Linked DNA regions of Homo sapiens: all the other regions are linked to region 1. Evidence: promoter capture Hi-C in human tissues and cell types (Jung and others, 2019). All regions are on one chromosome and are shown on one strand. Each heading gives the region's core, a stretch centred on a gene start or on the middle of the fragment in contact. The rest is flanking DNA. Distances are from core to core; before and after follow the strand shown.

What was found. Contacts are between HindIII fragments. The study calls those that stand out against the background at their distance.
Region 2: a contact is called between a fragment that was not itself captured here and the fragment with the promoter of GOLT1A in region 1, in 2 of the 25 tissues and cell types used here (adrenal gland and hippocampus).
Region 3: a contact is called between a fragment that was not itself captured here and the fragment with the promoter of GOLT1A in region 1, in 2 of the 25 tissues and cell types used here (IMR-90 fibroblasts and thymus).
Region 4: a contact is called between a fragment that was not itself captured here and the fragment with the promoter of GOLT1A in region 1, in 1 of the 25 tissues and cell types used here (bladder).

Annotation. Positions count from the first base shown.
Region 1 is chr1:204,210,822-204,218,070 of GRCh38, reverse strand. GOLT1A (golgi transport 1A) reads left to right here and starts at 4,083. Exons shown (of 5, transcript NM_198447.2): 1 at 4,083-4,189. The coding sequence starts at 4,165. RefSeq lists an enhancer at 3,556-4,212. The HindIII fragment of the contact is 10,240 bases long and covers 2,720-7,249 here.
Region 2 is chr1:203,808,777-203,816,025 of GRCh38, reverse strand. All of the region lies in intron 1 of ZBED6 (zinc finger BED-type containing 6), which reads right to left. All of the region lies in intron 2 of ZC3H11A (zinc finger CCCH-type containing 11A), which reads right to left. Among named protein-coding and RNA genes, the nearest start is that of ZC3H11A, 17 kb to the right of the region's middle. The HindIII fragment of the contact is 4,767 bases long and covers 1,516-6,282 here.
Region 3 is chr1:203,846,012-203,853,260 of GRCh38, reverse strand. ZBED6 (zinc finger BED-type containing 6) reads right to left here. Exons shown (of 17, transcript NM_001395895.1): 12 at 5,574-6,077; 13 at 4,854-4,930; 14 at 3,235-3,550; 15 at 2,580-2,746; 16 at 2,137-2,204; 17 at 1-1,120. ZC3H11A (zinc finger CCCH-type containing 11A) reads right to left here. Exons shown (of 18, transcript NM_001376342.1): 13 at 5,574-6,077; 14 at 4,854-4,930; 15 at 3,235-3,550; 16 at 2,580-2,746; 17 at 2,137-2,204; 18 at 1-1,120. The coding sequence ends at 862. Among named protein-coding and RNA genes, the nearest start is that of SNRPE, 12 kb to the left of the region's middle. The HindIII fragment of the contact is 5,303 bases long and covers 2,148-7,249 here.
Region 4 is chr1:203,885,619-203,892,867 of GRCh38, reverse strand. No RefSeq gene overlaps it. Among named protein-coding and RNA genes, the nearest start is that of SNRPE, 28 kb to the right of the region's middle. RefSeq lists an enhancer at 3,384-4,583. The HindIII fragment of the contact is 3,305 bases long and covers 1,434-4,738 here.

The DNA.
Region 1 (7,249 bases), core at 2,834-5,333:
CACCTGTTCCCATTTCTAAGGGCTAGTACGGGGGAGGTCATTTTTAAGATTCGACTCTATTTTGGATTTTGTCACATCCCCAGGATGATGTCCTTTGTGAACCCGGGAGAGTTGTGACCAGATGTAGGCTCTGGGGGAGGGCCTGCATCAGAGGCTGGGGTAGGGGGATGCATATTGGAGAACTCGTCACTTTCTGGGGGGCTGAGCCTTTATCTTCAGGCTCCATCTGAGCCAGAGCCAGTGGCAAGGGCTTGGGGAGGAGGTGGAATGTGAGACCACAGAGTACCACCGGGCATCACTGCATCCACCGACAAGGGCTGCCTCCTCCTCTCAAGAGATGATGCCAGCTGGTGCCTGCTCCATCCCCTACCAGATCAAGCCAGGTTGGGATTTGTAAAAAGGGGGTAGTAGCTGAGAAATGTAAATGAAAATGCAATAGCAGAATGTCCTTTAAGGAGCAGAGCTGTGTAACTGCATGATCACTTATTTATTCTTGAAGACAGGCACGACAGGGTCAGGCAGGCAGCCAAGCCTCAGACCCTGCTGCTGCCAGGGAACTGGGGCCACGCCACGTCCCCCTCCTCATCCCGAGCCTCACCTCGTTACTGAGACCAATGAGAGAAGGTGGCATGTCATCCTCAACTCCTGCCCCTAGCAACATGCTCCTTGCTAGCTGCATGAAGATTTGGACAAGTCATTAAATTCTTGAGTCTCAGTTCCCTCATCTGGAAAATGGGTATATTAACCACCATCTTATGGAACTTTCAAGAAAGACAAATGAGAAAATGGATGAAAATCACTTTGAAAACTCAAATTCACTTCCAAATGTGAGGAAGTGGAAGTGGTGATGTTGCAAAGGCTCCCTGGCCACCTGCAGGGGCCTGATGTGGGAAGAGGGAGAAGGTTTTCCAGGACCCCTCCTTTACTAGCTCTACAGCCTTTGCTGGAAGACATCACCAGGGCCCGTGCCATCCCTGAGGTGTCCCTCCCCTGCCACTTCTATGCCTCCAGCCCAGGGAGTAACTGCACTACCCCACACTTTTCTCATCATGGCAGGGTCATGAGACTGCCATGGGTCGAGGACTAGCACCAGCCTTCCCGGCGTTGTCCCTATGAAGGTCCCTCTCCAGAAGGATGAGTTGTGGACAGCGCCTCTGGGCTTAGCTCCAGTACCCAGAGAATCAGGCCCGGAGGGCCCAGTATCATGAGCGTTTAATTCTCCTGAGCTCACAGGTGGGTTCCATGGCTGGGGGTGGGGGCAGGAAGGGGCATCCCCAGTTGCTATTTTATACACCTGCGGGAGTGGTTTAGCACCACAATTTGAGATGACAGTAGAAGTCTTTCATATAAAGCATATTAACAGTATACTAATAATAACATTAATAACAATAGTAATTATTATAACTATACAGTAACAGGAATAACAGTGGTTCATTAAGTGCTTACTATGTGCCAGGTACCTGGTTCTATGCACTTCACATGCATTTACTCATGAATCCTCATCCTCTATGTCAGTCATAGGTACTATAATTATCCAAGAAGCTGAGGCACAGAAAGGATAAATAAAATGCCCAAGGCTTCACGAAGCCAGGATGAAGCTCTTAACCTACGAGTGATTTCAACAGGGATGATTCTGGCCCCTAGGGGCATTTGGTTGTCTCAATCATAAGGGTGCAAAACTCTTGCTGGCATTTCGAGACTGCAATGCACAGGACAGATTTCCAAAACAAAGAATTGTCCCATATCCTGTACTACTTTCGAATGTACAACTGAACTAAACCCACTACCAGTAAAAGTTGGTCATACTTCAATTGACAGTAATACCAAAAGGTTTTGTAAGCTTTTAAAAATAAATTTCATGAACACTCAGAAAGTTAGGAGATGGTTATTATGGAGCAGAAGCTTAAAAGGAATAAAGACATTGTCTTAAAATTATTGAATAATCTACTCCATGCATTGTCTACACAAAGGATTATAAGATTTCAGCTACTATGTATTTGATTGAAAACAGTTCTGATCAGTAGGTGATACTGAATAAACGAAGAAATTGACTGAAAATATTTAACAGAGGATATGTGAGAGAAGCAAACATGGAATCAGAGACACTTGAGATGCAGAAGATCTCACTGAGTTTCCTTAATAAAAGTTTTTAGGGTTTATTTCATATTATTGCCATCCTTTATATGTTTAGTTTTTTTGGAGCCCAAGGATGCTATGTTGTCATAATTATGTGTGGAAATGTTGTGTCCTGTCTTTACAACACTGTCCCGGGTGTCCACATGCAATTGCTCTAAACCACTTTTATCTTCTTTTCTTTTCCCAATCCATCCTCTATCCCCCATTGCCCATTGGAAATATGTGATCTCTAAGGCCTTTTAAGATCCCAGAGACTGAATTTTACCTCAACGCTGATATGTTTCAAGACAGAGGTTGATGTGTCTGTGGTACTCTATGGCGACCCCATTCCATGGGAGCTATTTTGACAATACACACATACCTAAGACTGAGTTCCTTTGCATGCACATCATACTTCTATATTATCTCCACCTTGTGCTCTCTAATTTGCCTTGCTATGTTATCCCTATTTCAATTAAGATGCTTTCCCTCTCATCATATGCAAGTACGTCTGGTCTGTTATTCCTTATCTAACAGTTTTTATTCTATGTTCACTTCCTGCTACTCTTTCATTTTCTTGCATGTGTGTGATTTTTGTTTTTGCATAGAATGGCTCATCTTCTATTTCTCTTAAATTCAAACATATATTATGTGTGGGTGCAAGCAATCTGCCTATTTCATTTATGTCTTCTGGTAAGTCTTGCCTGAACATTTATATATTGAAAGACATCATGTTTTATTATAATTTATCTTTTTGTTTCTTTTTAAAAAATTATGTTAGCTTTCCTTGGTTTTGTTGTTGTTGTTTGGTTTGTTTTTTTTTGAGACAGGATCTCGCTCTGCTACCCAGGCTGGAGTGCATGGCTTGATCACAGCTCATCGCAGCCTCGACCTTCTGGGCTCAAGCAATCCTCCTACCTTAGCCTCCCCAGTAGCTGGGACTACAGGCAGGTACCACCACATCCGGCTAATTTTTTATTTTTATTATTGTAGAGACAAGGTCTCACTATGTTGCTCAGGCTGGTCTCAAACTCCTGGGCTCAAGCAATCCTCCTGCCTTGGCCTCCCAAAATGCTGGGATTACAGACATAATGCATTTTGTATGCCAGGCCTATTTGCATTTTTAAATGATGTATATAGGTAGTCTTTGAAATTCATTTCTTCATTTCTGGACACAGAAGACATTGCAAAGTGGATGTTGGCTCTCCTGGCATCAATGCCACGTCAGAACCACTGCTCTGCGATGGGAAAAAAGGATGTTAGGAACTAACTGCCTCTCTTTTTGCAGGCCCAAAGGACGAATCCATGTCTACACAGCTGGTGGGTAGACTAGAACCAGGCCTCCTAAATTGTGCAGTCCTGCCCCAACCCCAAATTCAGGGCTTTGTCTTCCATAGCTCAACATCACAGTCAGTCCAAAGCTTGGACGCCGCTTGGGGAAAGGAGGTCGAAGACCTTCACGTCTAACTTCCCCCATGGCGCTTTTGCCATTGATTTAACCCGATCTGGCTCTGCCATTAGGTCAACAACAGGCTTTGTGCTCAGTCGCTCATCGCCTCCCAGCGCCTAGCATGTGCAATAGCAGAGAGCAAAAAGCTTGACTTTCAAGATGAATTTAGTACATTCCCAAAGGGATGCGCAGATGCCAACTCTTCCCACACTATCAAACCAAGCAAGAAACTTGAGCACCCCCTAGATTCCAATGCTTCCACATACAATCTAAGTTTCGCGGAGCAGACGAGAGCCGCAGAACACCGCGAGGTGCGAGGAAAGGGTCAGGTGGGCGGTGCCTTCCCCGGGCAGGCGCGGCAGGTGGAGGGGCGGGGCATTGCCCTACCGGAAAACGGGAGGAGGGAGCTGGCGAGTAGAAGCACCTGCGTGGTGTGCGGGGGTGGAGCGGGGGCTGGAGGGAGAGTTAATGATTTGCCACAGGCTCATTTCGCAACTTAACCAAGGGTCAGCTTCCCGTGACCATGTACCAGCTGCGTCCTCTGGGCCACGCTCCACTTGCCCGCTTCCACCCGGAAAGCCCCCCAGGCTGAGTGCGGCATGATCTCCATCACCGAATGGCAGAGTAAGTGGGATGAGCGGGGCTGCAATGGGCTATCCAGGCCAGGCTCCCTGCCGGCTGGCTCTCTCTCCCAGCTGGGCTCTCTGTCACTACAAGCGTGACCTCTGGAGCCAGGGGCTGGGAGATGCTGTGCTGGCACCCTGGGGCAGCAGGCAGGGTGGGGTGTGGCTCCCTACCCTCCAGCGGGTGGGAGTTGCTCAGGGCCCACAGGTAGCTAGAGGCTGGTGCCCAGGGGGCCTGGCAGGTTCCCCATTCACACTGACCCCTTTCCCATCCCGGGTTCTTAGAACTGGGTTGCCACAAAGGTGGACTCAGGAGGCCTCTGCCCATTCAGACATCTTTCCCCACACCATCAAGGTCTCCTGTGGCCCTGGGGGCTTCTTATAAAAAACTAAACTCCACTCCCCTGACCAAACCACCATACCCTCACTCCTAAACATCCTTCCCCTTCTTTTGGGGGAAGAGGTAGGGAGGAGGTCTTGGAACAAGTCTGGGGCCATGGGAAGAACCGTGGCTCTGTGGGCTTCATTTGGGTGAGTTACTTAAAGCCTCTGAGCCTTGGTTTTTCATCTGAGAATTGGTGACAACATTCTTTTGTTCACTCAACAGATTTGTCTCTGCTGTGTGCCAAGCACTGTGTTGGATATAGAGTGTCCAACATTAAATGAAACTGACTCCCTGCTTACATTCTAGAGAGGGGAGACAGGTAATTAACAGAAAGAAGTATATAGTATATCAGAAGATGATAAGTCCTCCAGATGAAAATAAAACAAGAGGAGGCTATGGAGTTCGAGGTAGGAGGGGTCGCTATTTTATATAGAGTGGTCAGGGAAGCCTCACTGAGAAGGTGAGCCTTTATTCAGATCTTTTTTCAGAGATCTATAGGAAGTGAGGAAGCAAAGCCACGCAGCTCTCTGGAGGGGAAATGTTCAGGAAGCAGGGACAGGCAGTGCAAAGGCCCTGAGGCATTAGCATACTTGGTGTGTTTGAAGAACAACAAGGAGGTGGGTATACCTGGAGCAAAGTGAGGTGAGGGGAGAATCATAGGAGTTTAGGTCAGGGATGTCACTGAGGGGTCAGGACACTGGAGACTTATAGACCATGGTAATGACCTTGGTTTTGTGCTATGGTGTGATATGTTCTATTTCTATGTTTAAAAGATCATTCTGGGTGCTGGGTTGAGAATAGACTGTGGAGGTATGAAGGCAGCAGCAGGGAAGCCAGTTCTTTTTTTTTTTTTTTTTTTTTGAGACAGAGTCTCACTCTGTCGCTCAGGTTGGAGTACAGTGGCATGATCTCTGCTCACTGCAACCTCCACCTCCTGGGTTCAAGCGATTCTCCTGCCTCAGCCTCCTAAGTAGCTGGGGTTACGGGCACCCACCACCACACCTGGCTAATTTTTGTATTTTTAGTAGAGATGGGGTTTCTCCACGTTTACCAGGTTGGTCTCGAACTCCTGACTTCTCAAGTGATCCACCTGCCTGAGCCTCCCAAAGTGCTGGGATTACAGGCGTGAGCCACCGCGCCCAGCCAGGGAAGCCAGTCCTGAGTGTGTGAAGGTGGAGACCAAGGTGTTAGCAGGAGATTAGCGGGGCGTGGTCCATGCTGGATCTGCCTTGAGGAAAGCGTTGAGGATTTGCTGACGGTTTGGACATAGGGTGTGAGAGAAAGAGGAGTCAAGAATGCCTTGTATATTTTTTAGCCTGTGCAATGGGAAGGGTTGAGTGGGGGGAAGCAGGAATTGGGCTTTAGATGTGTTGAGTCTGTTTGTGCTGTTAGACATCCGGGTGAGATGTCAGGTAGGTGGTTGGGTATGTGAGTCTGGAGTTCCAGGTAGAGGCCTGGGCTGGAGACAGAAATGTGGGAATAATCTGCATATACATGGTTTTTAGGACTATGAGCATCCATGAGATCACCGAGGGCAGGCACAGTTTCTCACCTCCCCACTATTGACATTTTGGGGCAGGATAATTCTTTGTTGTGGGGGCCTGTCCTGTACATTATAGGATATCAGCAGCATCCCTGGCCTCTATCCACTACATGCCAGTAGCACCCCCACTCCAAGTTGTGACAATAAAAAATGTCTTCAAACATTGCCAGATGTCCCCTGGGAAACAAATTTCCATCCCGCACCCCGCTTCCCCACCCACAATCCCCTCAGCCCAGTTGAGAATCATGGACCTGGCGAATAAAAATATAGAGAGAGGTGGGTTGGGTCCTCAACCCAGTGGCACGCTGACACTTTGTTAAACCAATTAGCCTGCAAGTAATATACTCTTACCAAATATGATAAGCAAGTCCTGTGAGAGAGAGAAATGAGGGATTTAGGTCAGGGAAGAGAGTGGACCAGCTTTCCCTGAGCAACTGACATTTCAGCTGAGACCTGAATGATGAGGATGCATTGTCAAGTAACAAGTGAGAGGCAGGGTGTTGCAGACCAGGAAACTGCATGTACGAAGGCCCTGAGTCAAGAGGGCTCACATGGAAGCCATGGAGAACAGTGTGGTTGGAGCATGGCAGGCAATAGGGACAGTGGCAGGAGATGAGGTGGGCAGGCAGGCCTGGGCCCCACCAGGCAGGGCCTGTGAGCTGTGGTGTGGATGAGAAGGCTCTGCTGCAGTCTAATCTCAGTGGGCAGCCGTGAAGGAGTCTAGGCAGTATGCTAACATGATCAGGTTGTATGTTTTGCAAGACCTTTGAGCGCCGTGTGGAGAAGGACTGGGAGGGTGCAGGAATAAAGCAGGAGGCCAAATGGGGGCTGCTGCATACGTCCAGGAAAGAGATGATCGTGGCCGGGAATTAGGTGTTAAGAATGGAGAGAAATGGACAGCTTTCAACATGTATCTTGGAAGAAGAAAAGAAAACTTAGCTGTGGATTTCATGGGGGAGGGGTGGGCTTCTGCGTTAAGTGGTGGGGTGGGCGGTGGTGACATGTTTACTCATTTGAGGACAACCAAGGGAGGCACAAGTTGAAGGAGGGAAGATAAATAGACCAGTTTGGGATTGAAGATTAGCCCAGTTCAAGATGGCTGAGAGAAAACCAGGCAGATATGCCAAGTAAGC
Region 2 (7,249 bases), core at 2,650-5,149, 400 kb after region 1:
AGAGGTGTACACCAATTACAAACAAGACGCAAAAGTAGTCTTTGGGGCTTTCCATAATAGTGATTCCACAAAACAACAAATATTTTCTCCCCTAGTCCATGGCATACCCTGATCTCCACACTAAAACGTCCAAGCAAGCTTCTACAAAAGCATATAACAAAAGCACATACGAGAATATGGAAAGGGTTTCCACAAACGTACATACCAGAAGATCAGGTTTCAGAAATAGTGATCTACAACTTGAAATCAATTAAATCAAATTCAGTCATATCTCCCACTAATAATTCCTAATGCAAGAATGGTATGCCATGATGAAAAGTCACCTTGATGTTAACAACCTGGATTAAGAGTCTGACACTGAACATGGGTACTAAACATGTACCCAAATGTTTAAAGTTTACATACCCTTCGACAATTCCATTTCTAGAATGTATTATAATATGTAAAAGTATTAAAGGTAACAATGCACAATAAATGTTATCACAATCTTGTTTTAATAATGAAATAGGCCGGGTGCAGTGGCTCATACCTATAATCCCAGCACTCTGGGAGGCCAAGGTGGGCAGATCGCTTGAGTCCAGGAGTTCGAGACCAGCCTGGACAACATGGCAAAACCCCATCTCTTAAAAAAAAAAAAAAAAAAAAAGCTGGGTGTGGTGGCACACTCCTGTGATCCCAGCTACACGGGGGAGCTGAGGCACAAGAATCACTTGAACCCAGGAGGCAGAGGTTGCAGTGAGCTGACATTGCGCCACTGCACTCCAGCTTGGGCAACAGAGCGAGACACTGTCTCAAAAAAAAAAAAAAAAGAAAAGAAAAGGAAGAAAATAATGAAATAACATCTAGAAACCTAACTGTTCAAAAACTGGAGACTATTTTTAAAAATTATGATATATGGCCAGGCACGGTGGCTCATGCCTGTAATCCCAGCACTTTGGGAGGTGGAAGCTGGTGGATCACTTGAGGTCAGGAGTTTGAGAACAGCCTGGACAACATGGCGAAACCCCATCTCTACTAAAAATACAAAAATTACCCAGGTGTGGTGGCACACACCTGTAGTCCCAGCTACTCAGGAGCCTAAGGTAGGGAAACTTCTTGAACCCGGGAGGTGGAGGTTGCAGTGAGCCGAGATCATGCACTGCACTCCATCCTGGACAACAGAGTGAGACTCTATCTCAAAAATAAACAAATGATTTAAAAAAATTACGGTATATTCATGTAATGTGACAATATACAGCCATTAGAGTTTCATACCAGAAAGTGAATGCTGCTGTAAAAAACCAAAAACAAAAAAATCTAAAAATATGTAAGCAGCTTTGTTATTGGGTCATAGGTGGAGGCTGGAAGACTTTTGAGGTACTTGATAGAAAAGGCCTAGAAGAAACTGCTGCTAAAGCATATGAACGTTAAAGGTACTTAAGGTACTTATGGTGAGGTTTCAGTCAGAAATTAGGATCGTGTTATTGGAAACTGGAGGAAAGGTTATTCTTTTTTTTTTCTTTGAGATGGAGTCTTGCTCTGTCACCCAGGCTGGAATGCAATGGTGCCATCTTGGCTCACTGCAACCTCTGCCTCCCAGGTTCAAGCAATTCTCCCGCCTCAGTCTCCCAAGTAGCTGGAATTACAGGCTTGCACCACCACATATGGCTAATTTTTGTATTTTTAGTAGAGACAGGGTTTCGCCATGTTGGCCAGGCTGGTCTTGAACTTCTGACCTCAGATGATCCTCCCACCTCAGCCTCCCAAAGTGCTGGGATTACAGGTGTGAGCCAGCGCCTGGCCGGAAAGGTTATTCCTGTTAAAAAGTGGCAGAGAACTTAGAATTGGGTTGTGTTGGGCAGAAGGCAGAACCTGGAAGCAATGAACTTGGGTTTTAGCTGAGGAGATTTCTAAGCAAAGTGTGGAAGGAACAGCCTGGGCTTTTCCTGCTGCTTACAGTGAAATGCAAGGAGAGAGACATATTGAGGCAAGAACTATGAAGCAAAAAGGAATAAAGAATCTGAACTTGAAAATTTAGAAAATTCTCACTCTATCCATATTGCAAAAAAAAAAAACAAGAATGTATGCTCTGTAGAGAAAAGGGTATGGGTGGGCAACAGTTTGTTGGAGATTAGGTGTGTGACTAGATTCAGGCAACCATCTTAGCAAAAAATGTTGCCAGCTTAAAATGAAAGAGACAGACATGTACAGAGGGAATGTGATGAGAAGACACACAAGGAGAAGATGACCATGTGGCTGGAGTGATGCATCTACAAACCAAGGAATGCCAAGGATTGCCAACAAACACCAGAAGCCAGAATGGGTAAGGATCATTCCTCTACAGGCTTCAGAGGGAGAATGGCCCTGCTGAAAACATTTTAGACATCTCACCTTCAGAATTGTGAGACAACAAACTTCTGTAGCTACCCAGTTTGTGATACTTTGTTATGGAAGTCCTAGGAACTAATACAGATAACAAGCATAGTCAAATGACCTTTGACAAAGGGGAAAAGGATAGTCTTTTCAACATATGTTACTGGAACAAATGGATATCCACATATAAAAAAATAATTTTAGACACAGACTTTATACTTTTCACAAAAAATAACATGGATAACAACTTAAATACAAAAGAAAACCAATAAATTGGTTTTCAATAAAAACCATTAAAATTTAGCCAGGCATGGTGGTGAATGCCTGTGATCCCAGCTACTGAGGAGGCTGAGGCAAGAGAATTGCTTGAACCTGGGAGGCGGAGGTTGCAGTGAGCTGAGATCACACCACTGCACTCCAGCCTAGGCAACAAGAGCAAAACTCCATCCAAAAAAAAACAAAAAACAAAAAACAAAAAAACATTAAATTGGAGTTCATTAAAATTAAAAAGGTCTGCTCTGTGAAAGCTCTGTTAAGAAGCTTAAGAAAGAATGAAAAAGCCACAGGCTGGGAGAAAATATTTGCAAAACATAACTGATAAGGTCTGATATACAAAATATATAACTCTTGAAACTCAAAAATAAGAAAACAACTCCCCAATTCAAAAAGGCAAAAGATCTGAACAGGTACCTCACCAAAGAAGGTATACAGATGGAAAATAAGCATTTGAAATCTTGCCCAACATCATGCATCATTAGGGATTGCAAATTCCTTTTCTAATGGCTAAAATCCATTTGGGCACAGTGGCTCACACTTGTAATCCCAGCACTTTGGGAGGCCGAGGCAGGTGGGTCATCTGAGGTCAGGAGTTCAAGACGAGCTTGGCAAACATGGTGAGACCCCATCTCTACTAAAAATACAAAAATTAGCTGGCCGTGGTAGCACACACCTGTAATCCCAGCTACTCAGGAGGCAAAAACAGGAGAATCGTTTGAACCTAGGAGGCAGAGGCTGCAGTGAGCCGAGATCATGCCACTATACTCCAGCCTGGGCAACAGAGTGAGACTCCGTCTCAAAAAAAAAAAAAAAAAAAAATTTAGAATGGCTAAAATCCAAAATACTGAAAGCACTAAATGCTGGTGAGGATGGGAAGCAACAAGACAGAAGTCTGAAAAAAACACAAAACATGGAATAGTATGCATCCAATAAAAAGGAACAAAATCATGTCCTTTGCAGGGACATGAATGGAGCCAGAGGCTATTATCCTTAGCAAACTAATGCAGAAACAGGAAACCAAATACAGCATGTTCTCACTTATAAGTGGGAGCTAAATGCTGAGAACACTTGGACACATAGAGGGGAACAACAAACACTGGAGCCTATCAGAAGGTAGAAGGTGGGAGGAGGGAGAGGATCAGGAAAAACAACTAATAGATACTAGGCTTAATACCTGGGTGATGAAATAATCTGTACAACAAACCCCCACGACACACATTTACCTGTGTAACAAACCTGCACATCCTGCACATGTACCCCTGAATTTAAAATGAAAGTTAAGGCCCAGTGTGGTGACTCATACATGTAATCCCAGCACTTTGGGAGGCCGAGGTGGGTGGATCACTTGAGGTCAGTAGTTCAAGACCAGCCTGGCCAACATGGTGAAACCTCGTCTCTATCAAAAAATATAAAAATTAGCCAAGCATGGTGGCACACATCTATAGTCCCAGCTACTCAGGAGGCTGAGGTGTGAGAATCACTTGAACACAGGAGGTGGAGGTTGCAGTGAACCAAGATCACACTACTGCACTCCAGCCTGGGTGACAGTGAGACCTGTCTAAAAAAAAAAAAAAAGAAAAAGACAAAGCTATCTGAATACTTTTCAGACATATATGCAACAAAGGAAAAAGTTTAATAATAAAAAAAGTCATTTGAGGTCAAGAGTTCAAGACCAGCCTGGCCAACATGGCAAAATCCCATCTCTACTGAAAATACAAAAAATTAGCCAGGCGTGGTAGCCCACAACTGTAGTCTCAGCTACTCGGGAGGCTAATGTACAAGAATCGCTTGAATCCAGGGGGCAGAGGTTGCAGTGAGCCACAATCTTGCCACTGCACTCCAGACTAGGCAACAGAGCAAGATTCTGCCTCCAGAAAAAAAAAGTTTTTAAGGGGAATAAAAGGCTTAGAGGTCAATCTCACTCACAAAATCAATATTCCAAAGAACATATTTGAAACTGTTACCGGTTTTAGAAAGACCAGCAACAAAGTAATTGAAACAATGAAATGGTAGCTATGAAATGCAAAGACACAGCAGAATTTACAATTTTTTGGCAACTAATTTTATTTATTTATTTATCTGGAGACGGAGTTTCGAGTTTTGCTCTTGTTGCCCAGGCTGAAGTGCAATGGCACGACCTCAGCTGACTGCAACCTCCACCTCCTGGGTTCAAGTGAGTCGCCTGCCTCAGCCTCCCAAGTAGCTGGAATTACAGGTGCCCACCACCACACTTGGCTTTTTTTTTTTTTTTTTTGTGACAGAGTTTCACTCTTCTACCCAGGCTGCTGGAGTGCAGTGGCGCAATCTCGGCTCATTGCAACCTCCACCTTCTGGTTTCAAGCGATTCTCTTGCCTCAGCCTCCCAAGTAACTGGGATTACAGGCGCCTACCACCATACCCTGCTAATTTTTTTTTTTTTTTGTATTTTTAGTAGAGATGGAGTTTCACCATAGTGGCCAGGCTGGTGTGAAACTCCTGACCTCAGGTCATCTGCCCGCCTCAACCTCTCAAAGTGCTGGGATTACAGGCGTGAGCGTCTGGCCCACAACTAATTTTCAAATCATTTTCTGCAAAGAGCCCTCAAAGTTGGGCAGAGTGTGGAGAAATGGAATCCTGAGTAGATAACACTCCCTTACTAATGTTTCAACAGAAAAAACTCCTTCGTCAGATCTAAGAGCTGGCCGGGCGCGGTGGCTCACGCCTGTATTCCCAGCATTTTGGGAGTCCGAGGCGGGTGGATCACGAGGTCAGGAGATCGAGACCATCCTGGCTGACACTGTGAAACCCCATCTCTACTAAAAATACAAAAAATTAGCTGGGCGTGGTGGTGGGCGCCTGTGGTCCCAGCTACTCTGGAGGCTGAGGCAGGAGAATGGTGTGAACCCCAGAGGTGCAGGTTGCAGTGAGCTGAGATCGCGCCACTGCACTCTAGCCTGGGCGACAGAGTGAGACTCTGTCTCAAAAAAAAAAAAAACCTAACAGCTACAATGTAAAACAAGAAAAAGGAAATAAGAGATAAAGAAAAAAAGAAAAGTTTCTTTATATATCATCTTTATACACTAAGCTTCTGTAACTTTCACTAGGATAAAAACAAATATAATTGCCATTCAAGAAAACGGCAAGGCCAGGTGCAGTGGCTCATGCCTATAATCCTAACACTTTGAGAGACCAAGGCAAGAGGATCACTTGAGACCAGGAGTTCAAGAACAGCCTGGGCAACAGACAGACCTCATCTCTTAAAAAAAAAACAAAAAACAAAAACAAAAAAAACACCACTCCAGCTTTTAAATGATGCTCCAATGACTTTATAATCAATACTATCCCATGCAAAAACACAAAACAAAGATGCACATCCATAAATTTCTTAAGTTTAAAAGGAAAAAAAAAGTATCTAGGTTGCCAAGAAAAACCCAGTTACTTTTTTTTGTTTAGTTTTGTTATTTTTGAGAGAGTCTCGCTCTGTTGCCCAAACCTGGAGTGCAGTTGCGTGATCTTGACTTACTGCAACCTCCACCTCCTGGGTTCAAGCAATTCTCCTGCCTCACCCTCCCGAGTAGCTGGAATTACAGGCGCCTGCCACCATGCCTGGCTAATTTTTGTATTTTTAGTAGAGACGGGGTTTCACCATGTTGGCCAGATTGGTCTCGAACTCCTGACCTCAAGTGATCTGCCCATCTCAGCCTCACAAAGTGCTAGGATTACAGCCGTGAGCCACCGCACCCGGTTAACCTGGTTACTTTTCAACAGAAAATAACCGTTTGAAAATATGAAGCCAAGAAAAATAATGGGACCTTTCTCAACCCACTCTCTAGAAGTTAATGTAGGAAAAAGGACATATTATTTTAAAATCTTCATGCTCTCAGCAAGTTTTAAAGGATATAGCATTGCTACAAATGAACATACCACTATGAAAAAAGAGTGGGGCTGGGTGCGGTGGCTCAGGCCTGTAATCCCAGCAACCTGGGATTTCGGAGATGGGCGGATCACGAGGTCAGGAGTTTGAGACCAGCCTGGCCAATATGGTGAAACACCGCCTCTACTAAAAATATAAAAAATTAGCCGGGCACGGTAGTGTGCGCCTGTTGTCCCAGTTACTCGGGAGGCTGAGGCAGAAGAATCGCTTGAACCCTGGAGGCGGAGGTTGCAGTGAGCCAAGATCATGCCACTGCACTCCAGCCTGGGAGACAAAGCAAGACTCCATCTCAAAAAAAAAAAAAAAAAAAAACAGTGAGAAGAAAACAAAGCTTCAAAAATAATAAGAAAACTCAGGCTGGGTGTGGTGGCTCATGCCTGTAATCCTAGCACTTTGGGAGGCCGAGACAGGTGGATCACCTGAGGTCAGGAGTTCGAGACCAGCTTGACCAACATGGTGAAATCCTGTCTCTACTAAAAATACAAAATTAGCTGGGCGTGGTGGCGAATGCCTGTAATCCCAGCTACTTGGGAGGCTGAGGCAGGAGAATCACCTGAACCCGGGAGGTGGAGGTTGCAGTGAGCCAAGATTGTGCCATTGCACTCCATCCTGGGCAACAACAGAAAAACGCCTTCTCAAGAAAATAAATATATAAAATAATGATAATAATGAAGAAAAAAAAGAAGAAGATGGCGATGACGACGACGA
Region 3 (7,249 bases), core at 3,550-6,049, 370 kb after region 1:
GGAGAGTTAGAAATAAAAAATTAACCAAATTTTGTCCCTGTGTTAATTCAATGCCAGCAAGGAGGCAAGTACTGAAGAAGAAAAAGGACAATTTTCATACTAAAAAAGAATTCCTCTAATCATGTCACCATCTCATATAATGAATCCAGGGAATCCCAGAAATAGAAAATTAGTTTCAGGGGACCCCTGAGGCACTTTAAAGCCTTTTAAAAAATTACAGTAATAATAAATTAGATATTGCTCTTCAGAGGCTAACAGAGCAGCAGAAGCATCAAGATCAGGTCCAAAGAGTTATGCCCACATTACAGGCTTCCTGAGCTGCTCAGCCCTCTTTAAAGCTTAGTTGAATCTTTAAATACCTTTAAAAAGACATACAATTTAACACAGACTGAGTGGGTATTTTTGTTTAGTGGTAGCATAAAATTTGGTCCTTAATGGTAGCAGCTGTCTTCATCCATTTCAAACTCAGGTAATATTAAGTACATCAAGACAATACATAAAGAATACAACAAAGAAGAAAAAAGCCAAAACTGACAAACACCTCAAGGAGTCACTAAGTTCGCTTGCACCCTTTCACTTGATCTCCCTCTCAGTCTCTTTTTTGTGGAGAGAAGGGTATGACAGAACTTTTTTCTCAAAAGATGATAAACAATGGCATCAAATGGACAAAATGGTTATAAAGTAACTTTAAAAATCTGACCCCAAGGAATCCAGGACACATACAGATAATTCAGAGGTATACTTCTGATTTGGGGCAAATTCTAGACTAAAGAAATGATCATCTCAGGTAAATGTTACAATAGATGAAACTAAGTCCAGTTTTTTGGCGATTTTTTTTTTAAAGTGTCCTCACTACCACCTTCAGCTATCAATCATTTCTGATAGCTCAAGCAGAAGGTCATCTTCATCTTTCCCAGGATCCAGGTCAATCTCAGCTTCCAATTTGCCTCCTGAAATCTCCCATATTAGTTTCTCAAAATCATCCTCCACAGAGAGTGGGGGCTTTCCTGTTGAGGCAGAGCTGAGTCGGCGAGTTTTCATGCTCATTTGGGATGAGGAAGGGCCAGACACCTCCGGGGGTGAGGAATCTGAAGAGGACTGGGTTGGAGGCAGCACAAGACTGTAAGAAAAAAAAGATTATTAGAAAACTGCCGTTTTAAAAATAGTTGGCTGAATCACCTAGTCTCACGGACACAAAGTGAGCAAAAATTTGTTTTTAAGAACATACATAAAGAAATAATTCTTTTACTGATTTGGGATCAAGCTTTTTTTTTTTTTTTTTTTTTTTTTTTGAGGCAGAGTCTCCCTTTGTCACCCAGGCTGGAGTGTAGTGGTACAATCATGGCTCACTGCAGCCTCGACCTCCTGGGCTCAAGCGATCATTTTGCCTCCGCCTCCCAAGTAGCTGGGTCTACAGGTGTGTGTCACCATGTGATTTTTTTTTTATTTCTTTGATTTTTATTAGAGACAAGACCTCACTATGTTGTCCAGGCTGGTCTTGAACTCCTGAGCTCAAGTGATTCTCCAGCCCCAGTCTCCCAAAATGTTGGGATTACAGGCATAAGCCGCCTTGCCTGGCCAGCACCAAGCATTTTTATAACTCAAAGTAGGTGTTAAAGACATCTTTCAGGGGCCGGGCATGGTAGCTCATGCCTGTAATCCCAGCACTTTGGGAAGACGAGGAAGGTGGATCACTTGACGTCAGGAGTTTGAGACCACCCTGGACAATGTGGCAAAACCCTGTCACTACTAAAAATACAAAAATTAGCTAGGCCTTGTGGCAGGCACCTGTAATCCCAGCTACTTGGGAAGCTGAGGCAGGAGAATTGCTTGAACCCGGGAAGTGGAGGTTGCAGTGAGCAGAGATTGTGCCACTGCACTCCAGTCTGGGTGACACAGTGAGACGCTGCCTCAAACAAAAAAACAAAAAAACATCTTTTAGGTAATATAGCAAAATGTAAACAATGGCACCAAAGAAGAACAGCAACCCTAGATTTTCATACTTTCTTGCAATTAATTTGAAGTGCAACAGATTTATTTGAATGTTGCTAAAGTTATTTATCAGTGTTATTCTCTAGAGAGCCTAAACAGTAACAGGGGCCTGGAGTTTGTTTAGAAAGAATTACAAAGTATTACCTGTCTCTAGGATTTTCTGCTTCAGGCACAGTGACTGATTTGTCCTCAGAGACAAGCGGGACAACAGCCTACAAAAGGAAGAGTCAGGTAATTCAGTGAGAGTCAGGCTTTTTAATTTGAGCATATTCATTTTCTTTTGCTGCCTTCTTAGAATTGTGGCTATGATTCTTTAAGCCTGTGAATCTAAGAATCGATAATCTAAAGGTTGAGTATATAAATAAGCAAAATATCTTGCCACCTAAAAATTAGCTTTTAAAAAATCCTGTCCTGCTACTTCACAAATATCAAACTGTAAGTATAAAATACAGTAGTAACCCAAATTACTAAAATGCTAGGAAATGCCAGGAAGTGATATACTCAAGATAGAATGCTAGTGGAGAGTTAGTCTTTCCTGCTTTCCTACCACACAGAATAAAGCACCACAAAGTGAATATACTTCTTACCACAGCTGCCTTTTTGGCTGGGGGTTCCTGTAGGACACTGCTGGAGCTGAGTGGCTTCACAGCGGCAATGACAGCAGCGTGCATCTCCACTGCCTTACGTTTTGGGGCCAATTTGGGGGATGACACAACTTTAACCACAGATGGCTTCACGTTCACTTTGGGTTTAGCTACAAAGGGCAGAAAATATCTGATAAGCAGTGAGAATAGACTCTTTTAAATGGGGAATAATTCAGAATAAAATATCAAAACTCCTTCAGTACTAGAAATACCACAAATAATTCATTTAAAAAGAGACTGAAAACGATTCAAAGGCAATTTGTGGTCACATGGTGGTCACTACAGGTGGTCACCATGTAGATACAATACCACTTAAATTTGTTACCATTCCTCTATTCCTTGTTTTTATTCAATACCAGAGGAAAGATGCACCATAGAAAGTTTTACACAAAGCTTTTTAAATAGCAATTTTAAATTCTGAGAAAAGAATTCATCTCGTTTTGCCTCTGTATAAAAATATCAGAAATATTACTATCTACCTGTGGATAGAAGGCAAATGAAATTCAACCCAATTGTTGCCAGGAAGTTACTGGCAACAATTGGGTTGAATTTGGTAATTTTGATAACCTAAAGCAATACACAGTATAGAAATACTTGCCTTTACCCCTTTTTTCCAAGGTCTGTGCTGCACATTTCACATTCAATAATGAGTCTCCAATCCCTGAGGTTTCTACCTCCACCTTCTGGGATGACTTTGTGGGAAGCCGCTTGGTCAGGTGCCGTGTGATTCCTGGCACAGCAGTGAGCACTGGTTTCTCTGCCACTTGGGTATTGCAAGAGGCTACATCTCCCCGAAGAGGTGTCAAGACTGATTTTTCCCTCTCCTGCTGTTTCTGCATGTGCTTCTCTCTCATGGTCTCACATCTCTTGACTTGAATTTTAGTGATGTCAACTCCTGTGGTCTCACCTGAAGCCTGTGGATAAATTTGAATGACAGAATTAAAATCTGGTACCTCTAATAACCTGTATGATGTAAGTACCAGGCTAACATCTAAGTTAAGCAGAATCTCACATGATCCAGAATCTGAGAGAAAAGCTCTTTATTTGATGTTAAATAGACAATACCCTGTTAAAGATGAAAGATTAGAATTACAGATGTATGGAATAATAAAAAACCCAGATTCCACAGGCTAGACAACCATGACTCTAAGTCAAATACTAATGATTCCTAAATAATCAAATACCTGCACAAAGATTTATGTACAAATATATTACTTTAAATTGTGTAAAACAAAATCTGAATGTCCAGAAAAAGACTGTATTTGTATAATGGAGAATCATGTGGTCAGTAAAAACAAACTTCTTGAAGAATTATTAACATGGTAAAGTTAAAGCAGGCTGTAAAATGATACACTGTAGAGTTCTCCATTATGTTCTAAACATGGGTTTAACATTAAACAAATTCACATGCATGCATATATAAACAAAAAGGTCGAAGAAGGCCAAGTGTGGTGGCTCACACATGTAATCCCAACACGTTGGGAGGCCAAGGCAGGCAGATCACTTGAAGCCAGAAGTTCGAGACCACTCTGGACAACATGGAGAAACTCTGTCTCTACTAAAAATACAAAAATTAGTCAGGCTTGGTGGTGCATGCCTTTGATCCCAGCTACATGGGAGGCTGAGGCACAAGAATCGCTTGAACCCAGGAGGCAAAGGTTGCAGTGAACCGAGATCATGCCACTGCACTCCAGCCTGGGCAACAGAGCAAGACTGAAAAAGCTCGAAGAAATCCATGGAAAAGATAATGATGGTTACATCTGAGCTGTATATTTTTAGGGTTTGTTCAGTTTTAAAAAAAATAAAATTTCCAACTTTTGTATGATGCATAGCATTAGAAAAAACTCAGTTAAAAAAAAGTAATGGCCAATTAAACAAAAAACTTTATTTTTTGTATTTTTAGTAGAGACGGGGTTTCACCGTGTTAGCCAGGACGGTCTCAATCTCCTGACCTCGTGATCCGCCCGCCTCAGCCTCCCAAAGTGCTGGGATTACAGGCGTGAGCCACCGCGCCCGGCAAACAAAAAACTTTAAAAGGGCAGCGAATACTGATATACATAGAACTACAGGAAATTCTCATAAGAAATTATAAGTAAAAAGAAAGACTGTTTACCTAATATATGAATGAAGTACTTAGAAATTTATTGTAAGGTAAAACTACCAATTATCTAGCCTTTGTTTGCCATGAACAAAACCATACAATAATCTTAAATTTACCTCTTTAGCTTCTGTTCTAATACTGCTCTGAGAATCAACTTCATTTCCTTCCTGAAGGTTCTTCTCTTCTTTCATCCCTGTATTCACATTAAAGACATCATTAGTTATTTTATTTAAGCTGCAACTTCATGATAGATATGTTAAACAAAACTTTATTTAATGAAAGTAGTAAGACAGGACAAATAAAATTACAGATAAAGCCCATCTGTGCTCCTAAAGTCTCAAAATACACATTAAAATAGCAAAGGTTGGCCGGGCATGGTGGCTCACACCTGTAACCCCAGCACTTTGGGAGACTGAAGCAAGCAGATCACACTTGAGGTGAGGAGTTTGAGACCAGCCTGGCCAACATGCTGAAACCCCATCTCTATTAAAAATACAAAAATTAGCGGGGTGTGGTGGCACATGTCTGTAGCCCCAGCTACTTGGGAGGCTGAGGCAGGAGAATCACTTGAACCTAGGAGGTGGAGGCTACAGTGAGCCAAGGTCATGCCACTGCACTGCAGCCTGGGTGACAGAGTGAGACTCTGTCTCAAAAATAAAATAAAACAAAATAGCATAGGTCTACATAGCACTACTGAAAAACTTCATTTAATTCAGTGTTTTCAACGTTATCTGAGTAAAGAAAGGTTGTCAAACAACTCCTAGGAAGATCCCACGGAACACTCCTCTGGAATATTATGTGGGGACGTGGTACTAGAGACCAAGTTCTCTTGTTACCTGTTCTTTTGGTGATTCGCAGCAGCCGCCTTGCCCCTGGAGTGGCCTCGTGTTGAGACGGGGAGCTGGTGCTGCTCTCAGAGCTCTGCTGCACCCTCAGTGCCTTCTCCAGTTTAATTTCTTCCAGCGTCTTGATGTGCACCTCCTGCATAGACTTTGTTTTACCTGCAGGCTCCTCTGATTGTCCTCTGCTGGCAACAATGGGTGGCAAAACTACTGTTTTTTTAATTTCACTATCAATCTTTAGCTTGATGCAAGTTGTATCCTTTTTGCTTTTTTGTCTCTCTGCTTCCTGCTGCCGATGTTTTTTTTCAGCCAGGACCTCAGAGAAGGTTTTGATACGGATAGTGGAGGAGCTTCTTGCTCCTGAAGTAGAATCATCAGTTTTTGAAGGTCCTTCTGTCTTGAGTTTAGTTTGCAATTCTCCACGTTTCTGACTGGCTCTTTCAAGAAGAATTTCTTCTAATGTCTTCACATGGATCTCACCAACTTTATTAACTTTATCTGTTTTCACAGGAGAAAAACATGTCATTATACTTGAAGTTCATCTCTTACTGACTTATGATCTCTCTATTCTTGGATCAAGACAGTCCAACAGAGAGCTATCATTTAAGCAGGCAATTAAAAGGATCAAAAGGGTAACATTTATTTCTTTTCCTTTTTTTCTTTTTCTTTTTTTTTTTAAGACAGAGTCTCACTCTGTTACCCAGGCTGGAGTGCAGTGGTATAATCTCAGCTCACTGCAACCTCTGCCTCCCAGGGTTCAAGTGATTCTCCTGCCTCAGCCTCCCAAGTAGCTGGGACTACAGGTACCCACCACCAAGCCCGGCTAATTGTTTCTATTTCAATTTTAGATTACTGCAAGTTCCAGGCAGTGGTCCTCAAGGAAAACTCTTTGGAGGCAAAAATTGATTTGTATTTCTATTCAGAAGCTTATTCTTCAGAAACTGAAAGCCATTTACTAGTTGGATAAATTTGTCATTATAAATCTTAACAAAAATAGCAATAAATTCTTCATTAACTTATGGCTATAAACATGTAATGAACACTGGGCTAGAAATACAATGGTAAGCAAAATAAAATCTCTGTCCACATGTAATTTACAGTCTAACAGATCAATAATTAAACTAGCTATAGCAGAGTATGGTAATGATAACTGCTTTGATAAGGTAGGTATAATGCTATAAAAGGACACAGCAGGAACACCTACACTTGTCTACAAGGAAATGATATTAAATTTAAAGGATAAAAAGAAGGTAAAACAGGTGACAAGATAGAAGAAAAATGCAGAAGGCCCAGAAATTGGCATGCCACTGAAGAGCTATTTTCAATGATACATTAATCGTTCTATATCTGTCTAAACTGAAGACCAAATGTCACACTTCACAGATAGAACCATTCTCATTACTGAAGGGCTAAGAAAATAAATAATGAAAAGAGATAGTGCTATGAAATAAATGATAATTTGGAGATCATACACATATATATGTAATCACTGAATAACAGCTTTTAATGAACCCCCCCCCCAAAAAAATTATATCTTTTCAAAATCTTTTTTTTTTTTTTTTTTTTGGTAAAGACGAGGTCTTGTTATGTGGCCCAGGCTGGTCTCCAAACTCCTGGCTTCAAGTGATCCTTCTGCCTCAGCCAATCAAAGTGCTGGGATTACAGGTGTG
Region 4 (7,249 bases), core at 1,837-4,336, 320 kb after region 1:
ACTCTTGTCACCTAGACTGGAGTGCAATGGTGCGATCTCGGCTCACCACAACCTCCGCCTCCCGGGTTCAAGTGATTCTCTTGCCTCAGCCTCCTGAGTAGCTGGGATTACAGGCATGCGCCACCTTGCCCAGCTAATTTTGTATTTTTAGTAGAGACGGGGTTTCTCCATGTTGGTCAGGCCGGTCTTGAACTCCTGACTTCAGGTGATCCACCCGCCTTAGCCTCCCAAAGTGCTGGGATTACAGGCACGAGCCACTGCACCCAGCCCCAGATTTTTACTTGTTTCTGTTAAATCTGATCCCTCTTACTCCATTTTGACTAGAAGCCTACTGTTTTATTTGTTGCAGCTATGATTACAAGCCTGTTGTGGAGGAAAGACATGAACTCCTCTATGAATTTAATGAAAGCTACTGACCACATTCCCCTCATAAATGAACATTCCTTGTTATTTTAAATGTAATTTCAGGTAGGTTCATTGGCTCCTGTATCTGGTATGAAGGGCTCATGGATCCGACACTTAGAATTCTTGTTTTTTCTTTTTCTTTTGAATTTTCTTGAGTTGGCTTTCTGTTAATTCTACCCTTCTGTTCCTTTCATTTTAGTATTTAATCACTTTGCTCATCAATTTTGTCCTTTTCTTGTTCCTCAACCATCATGTTTACCTTTTTGTCTTTTTAAGTTTTTTTTTTTTTTTTTGAGACAGGATCTCACTCTGTCCCCCACGCAGGAGTGCAGTGGTACAATCTTGGCTCACAGCAGCCTTGACCTTCCAGGCTGAAGTGATCCTCCCACCTCAGCTTCCCGAGTAGCTGGGAATACAGGCATGCACCACCACATCTGGCTAATTTTTGTATTTTTTGTAGAGACAGGCTTTTGCCATATTGCCCAGGCTGGTCTTGAACTCCTGGGCTCCATCCACCCACCTCAGCCTTCCAAAGTGCTGGGATTATAGGCATGTGGCACCATGTCTAGCCTCATGTTTACTTTTTTTTTCTTTTTTTCCAGACGGAGTTTCGCTCTTGTTGCCCAGGCTGGAGTGCAATGGCGTGATGTCGGCTCACCACAACCTCCACCTCCTGGGTTCAAGCGACTCTCCTGCCTCAGCCTCCCAAGTAGCTGGGATTACAGGCACGTGCCACCAAGCTGGGCTAATTTTGTATTTTTAGTAGAGATGGGGTTTCACTACTTCTTGTATTACACACTGAAGACAAAAAGCAGGGTCATGCAGTAATAACTGTGTAGTCAGCCCATACTTTAAATGGGACACTAGTTACTTTTAAGCAGTAAACCCTGACAATGCCCACCCTTTACCTATAACCAGTCGACCTGCATTGGCATTCCTTGTTCTCCTTTCTACAACCTAAACATTGAAAACTCTAGTCTCAGTAACTCAGATCTTCCTTTAGACAGTGAGTTGTCTGTGTTTGCAATGTTTTATTTATTTATTGTTTTTTTGAGACAGGGTTTCACTTTGTCACCCAGGGTGAAGTGCAGTGATGCAATCACAACTCACTGCGTCCTCAACCTCCCAGGTTCAAGCAATCCTCCTGCCTCAGTCTCCCTAGTAGCTGGGACTACAGGCGGTGCCACCATGCCTGGCTAATTTTTGTATTTTTTGTAGAGACAAAGTTTTGCCATGTTGCCCAGGCTGGTCTCAAACTCCTGAGCTTTAGTGATCTTCCCACTTTGGCTTCCCAAAGTGCCAGGATTACAGGCACGAGAGCTACTGTGCCCAGTCACAACATTTTGAAGCTGTGAAAACAGTGGTTTTCTTCACTCATGTCACCTACAATGTAGGCCAGTGTCGTCCAACAGAAATACAAGCCACATATGTAATTCTAAATTCCCTAATATCCACATTGGCCAGGCTCGGTGGCTTACTCCTATAATCCCAGCACTTTGGAAGGCCGAGGTGAGCAGCAGATCACTTGAAATCAGCAGTTTGAGACAAGACTAGACAACAAAGTGAGACTCCACTTCTACAAAAAAATACAAAAATTAGCCAGGTATGGTGGCATGCACCTGTAGTCCCAGCTACTCAGGAGGCTGAGGTGGGAGGATGGCTTGAGCCTGGGAGGCAGAAGTTCCAGTGAGCTGAAATCAAGCCACTGCACTCCAGCCTGGTTGACAGAGCCAGACCCTGTCTCAAAAAAGAAGCAATATCAAAAAAAAGTAATTGGTGGAATTAATTTTGTTTTACGTAATCCATTATATCTAAAATATAACTATTTCAATGTTACAAACATAAAAATTATTATTGGCTGGGTGCGGTGGCTCATGCCTGTAATCCCAGCACTTTGGGAGGCTGAGGCAGGTAGATCACTTGAGGTCGGGAGTTCGAGACCAGCCTGACCAACGTGGAGAAACCCCGTCTCTACTAAAAATACAAAATTAGCTGGGTGTGGTGGCGCATGCCTGTAATCCCAGCTACTGGGGAGGCTGAGGCAGGACAATCGCTTGAACCCGAGAGGCGGAGGTTGCAGTAAGCCGAGATCATGCCACTGCACTCCAGCCTGGGTGATAGAGCCAGACTCCATCTCAGGAAAAAAAAAAAAAAAAAAAAAAAATATATATATATATATATATATATAATATAACATATAAATATATAATAGAAATACATATAATATATAAATATATATTATGTAATATAATACTAATATAATATAATATAATATAACATATATAAATAGATATATTTGTTGACATGGAGTTTTGTTCTTGTTGCCCAGGCTGGAGTGCAATGGTGTGATCTCAGCTCATTCTGAGCAGCAATTCTGCTGCCTCAGCCTCCCGAGTAGCTGGGATTACAGGCATAAACCACAACGCCTGGCTAATTTCGTATTTTTAGTAGAGACGGGGTTTTACCACGTTGGCCAGGCTGATGTGGAACTCCTGACTTCAGGTGATCCACCCCCCTCGGCCTCCCAAAGTGCTGGGTTACAGCCGTGAGTCACCGTGCCTGGCCAAATGTCTAGTTTAAAAAGTAGACTGTCGTACACAAGTTGTTCCAAACATACTTAAAGGTTTTCTAAACCAAAAAGTACGTTCCTTAGCCTTAGCACATTTTAAGTGCTCAATAGCCACTTATGGTTAGTGACAACTATATTAAACAGCATAGGCATAGGTCCTTTATGAAGAGTTACAGAATACCTCATTTCCGTGGTGATTTTGCTTTATTCCTACACAACACACTAGCACACACACATACATATATATTAAAACATTGCCTAAATCTTTGTAAGCAGATTTCACAACAGGAAGAAGTATGTCAAAATTTCAACTCAGGAATGGACTCAACATACTGATTTTAAAAAACAGTTAAGAGGTATTTAAACCTCAAATACTAATCTCTGAAAAAAGCATAGTTGAAATTCATAGCCAAATTTTTGACATTTCCCTCTCAATAACCTGTCTCCAACAAGTCTATAATCAATTCAATCTATTTATTTTTCTCTAGGCAAAGTCATAAGACCTTTTCCCCCAGGGTATATACATTCCCAATGTCCTTCTTTTTCTAAATCTTATTTATAATACGTAATAACTATAAAAATGCTGTTATAAAATATAGATACCTGCTCATAGAAATACACTTCATGAGGTATAAAAGATGCACAAAGATGTTTACTGTGGCATAATTTGTAATAATGAAAAAGCTGAGCTTCACAAAGAAATGTATTATAAATTATGATTTGTCAACTCAATGGAATACCATGAACAAAGCTTAGAGGGCAACAGGAAATGACTATTGTAGAAAGCATGATTATGGGTGATACATTGTAAAAAACCCTGATTCCTGTCTTAACAATGGAATGGGGAAAAAAAGAAACACCCTAGAGTTAAAACAAGGTAGAAAGATTGGAGTAGAAAGTACTTTTTCTTTTCTTTAGGTGTCTCAAGGAAATTAACAATAAGAGAAGAAAATGAAATGCCCTCACTGACCTTCCCTCCAGCCTTTCCTGCTGCTAATTCCCTGAAACTGAACTCCAGCCAAGACTTCAGAAGGATCCTATACATAAATGGAATCAGGCTTCAGGTTTCCTCAAGAGTGGGTGGGAAAGTTATGTGTGGAAAGGTCTCAACTAGAAGCCAAGAAAAGATCCACTTAGCAAAAAACCATACACCTTTTCAAAAAGAATGACCCAAAAAATTATTTCTAGTCCAAAATTTTGATAAAATTTTTAAAATTCATAAGAGAAAATATGGGACTTCCCAACCCAATATTCAGGCACATGATGTGAATCTCAATAACTGCCTAAAGCAAAGATAGTAACAATGTATTATGGGACTGAGAACTAAAAGTATGACGAAAAGAGTACAAAGAGGGCTGGGCACAGTGGCTCATGCCTGTAATCTCAATACTTTGGGAGGCTGAGGCAGGAGGATCACTTGAGCCCAGGAGATTGAGACCAACCTGGAAAACACAGACCCTATCTCTACACACGCAAAAAAAAAAAAAAACCCAAAAAACAAAACAATTAGCTAGGCATGGTGGTGCATCCCTGTAGTCCTAGCTATAGGGGAGGCCAAGGCAGGAGGATCACTTGAGTCAGGAGTTCAAGGCTGCACTGAGCTATGATTGTGCCATTGCACTCCAGCCTAGGAGACAGAGCAAGATCCTGTCTCTTAAACAAACAACAACAACAACAACAAAAACGCACAATGAAGGGAGGAATTGGAGGTATAAGAGTCTCATAGCATACATGGAGTGTTAAAATACTACTGAAAGCAGACTGGGCACGGTGGCTCATGCCTGTAATCCCAACACTTTGGGAGGCCAAGGTGGGTGTATCATCTGGGGTCAGCAGTTCAAGACCAGCCTAGCCAACATGGTGAAACCCCATCTCTACCAAAAATACAAAAATTAGCTGGGCATGGTGGTGGACACCTGTAATCCCAGCTACTCCAGAGGCTGAGGCAGGAGAATCGTTTGAACCCAGGAGGCAGAAGTTGCAGTGAGTTGGATCGTGCCACTGCACTCCAGCCTGGGCGACAAAAGCAAAACTCCATCTCAAAAACAAAAACAAAAACAAAACAAAACAAAAAAAGCTACTGAAAGTAAACTGTAGTAAGAAAGATGTATACTGTAATCCCTAGGTAATCAAGTAAAAGTCTTTTAAAAAATGGAGTATAGCTAATAAGTTTAACAGTAGATATAAAATGAAATCATAAAAATCATCCAAAGGAAAACAAAAATTTTGAGGAAAAAAAGAGATGGGGATGGGACAAACAAAAAACAAGTAAGGTGATGTAAAGAACCATTAAGTATCCTTAGTTTTACCCTACTTGCAGGCTAAGCAAGCCCCCCTCCCCGCATGGTTTCATGGGTGCTAGTAGAAAACATGTGAAATGTGAGTCAGAGGACAGTTTACTACTCTTATCAAGGACAATATCCAATATATCAGCATTTTCTTACAAGTTCCCCAAATCCTAATTCTCAAAGGCAATGCAAGGATGGCCAAATGATACTCACGTGCAATGGGTTGTGTTATGAGCAGAAAAACCTTGAATTTGAGGAACCAAATTTTTTATGCGATGTCTGCTCCATGCTCTGGTGGTACACGCCTGTAATCCCACCTACTTGGGAGGCTGAGGCAGGAGAATCACTTGAACCTGGGAAGGGGAGGTTGCAGTGAGCTGAGATCACTCCACTGCCCTTCAGCCTAGGCAACACAGCGAAATTCCATCTCAAAAAAATAATAAAAATTTTTTTAAAAAATAAGGCATGTTTTCAATCAGTAACCAAAGCTTCTGCCTTAAGAAACTAGAAAAAGATCAGATTAAACCCAAATAAAGAGATACATAGAAATAATAAAGAACAGAATAGATGAAGAATGAAAGTAAAGATACCTCTACAGATCCTACAGGCATTAAAAGGATAAGGGAATATTGTGAACTACTTTGTGCCAATAAATTTAATAGCTTAGATGAAATGGACAAATCCCTTAAAAAACACAACTCCAGCTCCCCTGGGCTATTCTGGGCACACTGCCTATGGGGTACCTCTGCTCTGCAAGGAGCAATAGAATAAAAACACAACTCTCAAAGTTCACTCAAATGGAAGTAGATAACCTGGATAGTCCTAGATCTATTAAAGTAATTGAATTCATATTTAAAGCCATAAAAACAAACCATGGAGATTGGTAAACTTAGGGGGAGGGAGTTGGAGTATCTGTTTGGAATACAGAGTATTCTTATAGGGTAGTCCTGCGAGATAAGGGTGAAGGGCAGGTTGAAGGCAGATTATAGAAAACATTGAAAGTCATGCTAAGGATTTTAATTTCTATTGCACAGGCAAATGTCGTTTTCACTGTGTGCTCCCAGCACTTTAGGAGGCCGAGGTGGGCGGATCACCTGAGGTCAGGAGTTCGAGATCAACCTGGCCAACATGGCGAAACCCTGTCTGTACTAAAAATACAAAAAATTAGCTGGGCTTGGTGGCAGGCGCCTGTAATCCCAGCTACTTGGGCGACTGAGGCAGAAGAATCGCTTGAACCCGGGAGGCAGAGTTTGCAGTAAGCCAAGATCTCGCCATTGTACTCCAGCCTGGGCAACAAGAGCAAAACTCTTGTCTCAGGAAAAAAAAAAGAGAAATGTACTGCATAATCTTTTATATGTAGACTCTCTAAAAAAGTCAAATACAGATGCTCCTTGACTTATGAAGGGGTCATGTCCTAATAAAGCCATTCTAAATTGAAAATACCATAAATTGAAAATAAGGGCTGGGCACAGTGACTCACTGCTGTAATCCCAGCTACTTGGGAGGTTGAGGCAGGAGAATCGCTTGAGCCCTGGAGGTGGAGGTTGCAGTGAGCCAAGATCGCACCACTGCACTCCAGCCTACATGAAAGAGCAAGACTCCATCTCAAAAAGAAAAAAGAAAATAAGGCCAGGTGTAGTGGCTCATGCGTGTAATCCCAGCACTTTGGGAGGCGAGACAGGTGGATCACTTGAGGTCAGGAGTTTGAGACCAGCGTGGCCAACATGGTGAAACCCTGTCTCTACTAAAACAAAAAATACAAAAATTAACTGGGCATGGTGGCAGGTACCTATAATCCCAACTACTCAAGAGGATGAGGCATGAGAATCGCTTGAACCTGGTAGGCAGAGGTTGCAGTGAGCCACAATGGCACCACTGCACTCCAGCCTGGGTGACAGAGTGAGACTCCATCTGGAAAAAAAAAAAGAAACTTTTGTTTTTTACTTATTATATATTAAACTTACAATGGGTTTATCTGGCTATAGCC